Linked DNA regions of Homo sapiens: region 2 is linked to region 1. The links are contacts of gene promoters, found by promoter capture Hi-C in human tissues and cell types (Jung and others, 2019). All regions are on one chromosome and are shown on one strand. Each heading gives the region's core, a stretch centred on a gene start or on the middle of the fragment in contact. The rest is flanking DNA. Distances are from core to core; before and after follow the strand shown. Region 1 holds the start of UGT2B15 (UDP glucuronosyltransferase family 2 member B15). Region 2 has its middle 23 kb from the start of UGT2A3.

What was found. The method cuts DNA at HindIII sites, captures the fragments that hold promoters and counts their contacts. A contact is called where the count stands out against the background at its distance.
Region 2: a fragment that was not itself captured here is called in contact with the fragment with the promoter of UGT2B15 in region 1 in 2 of the 25 tissues and cell types used here (H1 embryonic stem cells and dorsolateral prefrontal cortex).

The regions. Positions count from the first base shown.
Region 1 is chr4:68,668,661-68,672,217 of GRCh38, reverse strand. It overlaps UGT2B15 (UDP glucuronosyltransferase family 2 member B15), which reads left to right and starts at 1,566. Exons shown (of 6, transcript NM_001076.4): 1 at 1,566-2,323. The coding sequence starts at 1,600. The HindIII fragment of the contact is 11,998 bases long and covers 1-3,557 here.
Region 2 is chr4:68,973,527-68,976,747 of GRCh38, reverse strand. It overlaps the pseudogene LOC100289568. Among named protein-coding and RNA genes, the nearest start is that of UGT2A3, 23 kb to the right of the region's middle. The HindIII fragment of the contact is 3,307 bases long and covers 281-3,221 here.

The sequences.
Region 1 (3,557 bases), core at 317-2,816:
CTGCTCTCTGGGGTGGAGGGATAGGTCCACAAGCGACACAGACCTGAGCCCCTCCTAGGATTTGGCACCAGATGTAAGGTTCTTGAATCAGTTTGAACCCCAACAGCGCGCCAACAGACAACAGGAGGCGGTGTGGAGCAACATGCTGTTTTAATGAACGCCTGGTTGCAGGTGGGCTGAGGCCTAAAATGGCATCAGCCCCAAGTGAGGATGGGACAGGGGTTTTGTAGTCCTCTGTAAACAGTAAGTGTCCCAGTCTGTTGTGACTGCTATGTAGTACCTGGATGGCCTATTTCTTGATCTTCAGGGGTACATCTCTTCCAGCCAGGGTAAGTGTCTTCTGGCCGGCTCTCTTCCTGCTTCTGCTATCTTGCTGACACACGCTGCTGATGCAAGTGGTCTTGCATCTTGGGGCTGGGCCTGAGAAGGGAGGAGTTACTCATCCCTTCAAGCCTTCAGGTCCTGAGGAGAATCTTTGAACCCCCTGCATCACTGGCCACCCTCCTGATAGATCCCTGTGATGCCAGGCAGGAATGAGCCGCTTGGGTATCCAGAGAGCTCCCAGTGCCTTTCTGCTACTTCCTCTACCCCTGTATTTTGCTTGGCTTGGTTCTCTAATTTGACTCAGCTTCACATAAAGTCAGGAACTTCTCCTGCAAACAGAACTTCAGCTTCTCCAGTGGGGATGTGTATTCTGGAGAGGGGGATCACCCTTTCCCACTTCCATTGTTGGGGCACTCACAGTGTTTGGGATGTCTCCCAGGTCCTGCAGGAGCAGTACTCTTCCTGCAGAGGGTGTGTGGATCCTCTCAGAATTGCTGGTCTGTTCTTGCAGTTGATCTGCAGCTAAAATTCACAATGCAAGCCTCTGCATGCTGCTCTGTCTGGAGCTGCAATCTAGTCCTGCATCCCATCTGCCATGATCACTGGAAAACCCTCATTTATTTTTTAAAGGGTCCAGAAAATGCTAATCTATAGAGATAGAAATTAGATTAGTGGTTGCCTAGGGTAGGATGGATGCAAAATTTCAGAGTGGGGGGTTAGAGGCTATTGTATAGAATCTTTTGGAGATAATACTGATTATTGTAGTGGATGTAAAATTCTGTGAATATACTAGGAAACATTGAACTGTACACACTAATTGGTGAGTCATATGGTATATGAATTATGTGTCAACAAAGTTTTAGAAGACATTACTTGCACCACGATATTAAAAAATGCCGTTTGAGTTGTATAATTACTTCTTCTCTCTATGTCAAGGGCACCGAACAGGCAGGAGCCTCTCACTTGCCACTGTTCTTAACAGTATTATAAAATAATTACATAAGACAGGTTACTTACATATTCTAGGTCATAAAAATTATTGCTTGACTAGAGTAATTGTAAACATAAAAGAACACCAAACACACTAAAATAAATATGAGGTCATCAATCTTTTGTTGGTCTCCTTGGCATGCACCTATTCAGACTGTTAGTATTATGTATTTACTTCAAATTTTAGCAGTTATATTTTAACTTGATTGATTTTTCCTCAGATATAAGTATGAGAAATGACAGAAAGAAACAACAACTGGAAAAGAAGCATTGCATAAGACCAGGATGTCTCTGAAATGGACGTCAGTCTTTCTGCTGATACAGCTCAGTTGTTACTTTAGCTCTGGAAGCTGTGGAAAGGTGCTAGTGTGGCCCACAGAATACAGCCATTGGATAAATATGAAGACAATCCTGGAAGAGCTTGTTCAGAGGGGTCATGAGGTGACTGTGTTGACATCTTCGGCTTCTACTCTTGTCAATGCCAGTAAATCATCTGCTATTAAATTAGAAGTTTATCCTACATCTTTAACTAAAAATTATTTGGAAGATTCTCTTCTGAAAATTCTCGATAGATGGATATATGGTGTTTCAAAAAATACATTTTGGTCATATTTTTCACAATTACAAGAATTGTGTTGGGAATATTATGACTACAGTAACAAGCTCTGTAAAGATGCAGTTTTGAATAAGAAACTTATGATGAAACTACAAGAGTCAAAGTTTGATGTCATTCTGGCAGATGCCCTTAATCCCTGTGGTGAGCTACTGGCTGAACTATTTAACATACCCTTTCTGTACAGTCTTCGATTCTCTGTTGGCTACACATTTGAGAAGAATGGTGGAGGATTTCTGTTCCCTCCTTCCTATGTACCTGTTGTTATGTCAGAATTAAGTGATCAAATGATTTTCATGGAGAGGATAAAAAATATGATACATATGCTTTATTTTGACTTTTGGTTTCAAATTTATGATCTGAAGAAGTGGGACCAGTTTTATAGTGAAGTTCTAGGTAAGTCATGTGTCTAACTGGTGCTTATTAAGTTCTAACTTTTCTGTGCCTTTGAAGGTGAGCTTATATAAATATAATGTCAGAAGATAGTGTTTTTAAGGGAAATTATGAATTGCAAATGTAAGATGATCTATCAGTCTCAAAAATATTATAGAATGTTGACCTTATAGAATCAGTTAGAACCCTGGGGCCATCACTACTACAGGACACCCAGAGAGTCATAAACCTTCATTGTAAAGCACTAATGATTTCTTTAAACTATCACATATCATTTTGCTATACATTTTTTCATCTTTAAAAAAAGTCAATAGATACCTCAAGAAACATCTTCATGAAGGCAGACACATAAATTTAGTATTTACACATATTTCTAGAAAAATTATCAATGCAGGATTGAGGAATTTGTTTCTCTTTGAGTTCCTCAGTTTCCTCATTTAGAAATTAAATTTTGTTTTTCATGTAAGAAGGATTCCTTCACAGTTGAGTAATATAGTGGCTCTACTCCAGAAACAGAAGCCTAAAACTTGAGATTTCTAATGTTTATACATTCCTTCAATAACAGGTTGACAATTATTTCTTTCAAAAACTGAAATCTTGTTGAAAGTGAACATCTAAGTTTTAATCTATATTTTATTAAACTGCATCTCTCCATCAAAGAAAATAGGGGCCAAATTAAGGGAGAGCACATATCTCTATGTCAATAAATTCTGAAAATGTTTTAATTCTCATTTGTAAATATATTTATTTTAAAAATCTAATTATATTAAGATCTTAAGATGAACCAAGACAGTAGTAGGTGTAAAGATTTCAGTGTTGAGCTCAAAAAACTCATGGTTTACTTTGAGAACCAAGGATCAAGGGACTAGCTTAATAAACTGTAGACACTAGAGTACTTCCTGGAAAGCTGTTTTCATGGGTAAGGTAAGATGAATTAATTGTGGAACTGAAAGAGTTGTTTAAAGGTATATTTGTTACTATTGCAGCTTCAGAGGGAAGACAAATGTGTATTTAAGTTCATAGTGGCTACATTAGTCCATTCTCACACTGCTGTAAAGAAATACCTGAGACTGGGTAATTTATAAAGAAAAGAAGTTTAATAGACTCAGTTCTACATGACTGGGATGCCTCAAGAAACTTAGAATCATGGTGAAAGGCTAAGGGGAAGCAAGCTTGGATCTTCTCACTTAGTGGCAGGAGAGAGAAGTGCAAGCAGGGGAAATACTAGACACTTATA
Region 2 (3,221 bases), core at 685-3,184, 300 kb before region 1:
TGGTCTCAAATTTACCCCAGGTGGTTCAGCCCTGTGAACACTCTCAATACCTCTTGTGGGGTGGGACAAATGTGGGCTTTCCCTCCAAATTTACAGACCCATGAAGAAATTATATGTCCACTTGAAATTCCCTCCTCCCATTTCAATAACTGCAGGTAAAAAGAAGTTATCTCACAGTGGTGTCATTTTTGTGTGTGGAAGGGGTTGGTATAGCCCCCAAAAATTATTCATCTTACCAATCATAAGTTTGTCATGTCCGTAAGTCTTGGGGTTTTCTCCTTCTCTATTGAGATCTGGTGAATTCAGAGTGGCATTTGTGTATTTGGATAGCTACTAGTTGTACTTTTGTTGGGGAATTGATGTTGGATTTTTAAAATTTTATTATTTTGTTGACATCACAAAATGCCAACAAATTGACACTTGATATTGTTGAAATAGTTTTATGAGTTTACTAACCATTATGTTTTTAGAATTTGATGTCTACCAAATATTAAACAAGATGGACATTTCTCACTTAAATGTTCTGTATAACTATGTGGTTGTGTGCTTTTTCTAGTAAATAATTATTATGTACTGAAGACATATGTTTCTAACACAAACTTTCTCATTTCTATGCTAAAATGCATCTCAGAATACAGGGACAATACAACTATATATATGTCAACTTCAAAATTTTATTTTAGAAGTATGCATAAACTGTATTATTCTATTTGGCATTGCATCTTTATAATGAAGAAAATTTTTTTTTCTGTAGGAAATAGAAGAATTTTTCCAGCGCTCTGATAAGGATGGTGTTGTTGTGTTTTCTCTGGAGTCAGTTGTGAAAAACCTTACAGAAGAAAAGGTTTATCTTATCACTTCCGCCCTGGCTCAGATTCCACAAAAAGTCAGTAGAACCTCCAATCCTTATAAGAAGCTATTCACACAATAGAGAAAGTATGGCTTTCCATTTGGAACTTGAATCTCATTTTTCAATTTGCGTAACAGGCGTTAGATTTACGTAACAATTTGGAAAACATTATGGTTGTGTATGTGGACACAACTGATTATTTGCCTAGTGATCTTTTCTATTGCTTTAGTAACACATCTCTTGCTTGTCATTTGTTAATAATAAAATAAAAATAGTGCATTAAGTCCCTATTCCACATTGCAGGATTTGAAATCTTGAGACATATTCTGATGACTCCAAAGGAAACTTTTTAAATATACTAGCTCAAAGGAATATAAAAATTGGGGAATTATATAAGAGAAGAATCATGCTCAATAGTATTCTCAACATATTTGATTATATAGGAACTCTATTCCACGTATTTGAACATAAAAGTAGAAGCTTAAATTTATGTAGTCTTTCTAATGAACTAGAGTTTTCTATAGTTAAAAGGCAATTATGGTTTTAATATTATAGTCTAGCAACCTGCATGTAATTCTTTATGATATTCAATTAGTTTTGTTATTACTGTAATTCTAGTTTTCCTCTCTTTAGTTAGTGCTATTTATACACCAGCCTAGAGGTTTTTTTTTTAATTTTATGTTTAGTTAAATTTCAAAACACTCAATAAAAGCAAGTATGGTAAATAGGAATGTGAAATTGGTTTTAGTCATGAGATTCTCGTTTTGGGAGTTCAGAGTATCTATGTAATCCTTTGTTTTCAAGTGTGAGATTTTCATATACGTTTCTAGAAAGAAAAAAGTATGGAACTAAGATACAAATACAAACAAAATTTAACCTTCAACAATGAAATATAGGTAACTCCTCTCTCTTTGTTTTTTAATTAAAGATAAATGAAATAAAGGAGAGAAGGAGGCATGAAGAGAAAAGACAACCAACTACCCAAAACCAGACAAAAACCAAAGCAATGTTTGTCTCTGGGAAACTATAAATTTGATAATAGAGCTAGAATGGCCAAGTGATTTACATTTACACAGAAGTTGTGTGTCCGTAAGAAATTGAACTTCCATATGCTGACAAATTAGCCAACACTGCTTTATTTTTTTGTTATTTTTATAATCTCACTCCTAGATGATTTGAGTTTGCAGGAAACAAAATAATAAATGGTATCCCCAAGAGTTTAATGGTACCTACCCTTTTAAGAGGTGACTGTCAACAGTCTTACTATTTTTTTCAGTGATTACATAGGACCCTTATATGCTCCTGTCTCAAATATCATCTGAAATAAAGTGGATTGTATGAATTATAATGATCTGAAAACTCAAAATGCTATTATCTTGTGGTTTAACTTGTGAAATGCATACATTTACTTCCTCAGGTTTTATAGAGATTCAAAGGAAAGAAACCAGCTACACTGGGAACCAATACTCAGCTCTACGTTTGGATATGCCAGAGCGATCTTCATGATAAGATTATGACGTAGTAAAAATGAGGAATTTCATAAGGGAAAAATTGAATAACTGTTTAACACCTAATAAATTTAACAAAAATTTAAAATTTATAGTTTGTTATTTTACCTTTAATTTTAAAGTATATATAATTGAGTAATTGTTGGTCATTATATTTTTTGATTCTTACTTTTATTTTTAAAGTAAGTTTCAAGCAATGCAGAAATAAATTAATGCCTCTTTTCCTTAAGAAAGCAAATTTCTTTTGCAATGATGCCCTTTTTGTTCACTTTTGTAGAAAATTCTGCCCTCTTCAGTGAGTTATTTCAAAGATTTTTTCCCTACATGTCTCTGAAATTCTTTTAAGAATTGTGATAATAAAAACCATACTTCTTATTCAGTTTCCCAACTAGGTCATGCACAAACCAAAGCTTTTATCACTCATGGTGATATAAATGGGGTCTATGAAGCTATTTACCATGGAGTCCCTATGGTGGGAGTTTCCTATGTTTGGTGATCATCTTGACAACACCTCTCACATGAAAGCCAAAGGAGCAGCTGTGCAGCTGAACATGAATACAATTACAGGTACAGATTTGCTTAGGTCTTTGAGAACAGGTATCAATAATCTTTTGTAAGTATTACTGCTTTAAAAGGCTTATCTACCATTGATTATGTTATATATCATACTAGAAAATGTTAGGGCCATACTGGAAGACTATTTAAAAGATCTTCCCTCTCAATCTCAGGTATTATCATCTTAGTATTGCCATTATCTTAGTATTGCAATGATTATATCATCAGGTATAATCATCTTAGTATTGCAATAGTCCTGGAAATGATAGTTCATAGAGTGTCAATCCTCCTTCTTGGAAACAGTAGAT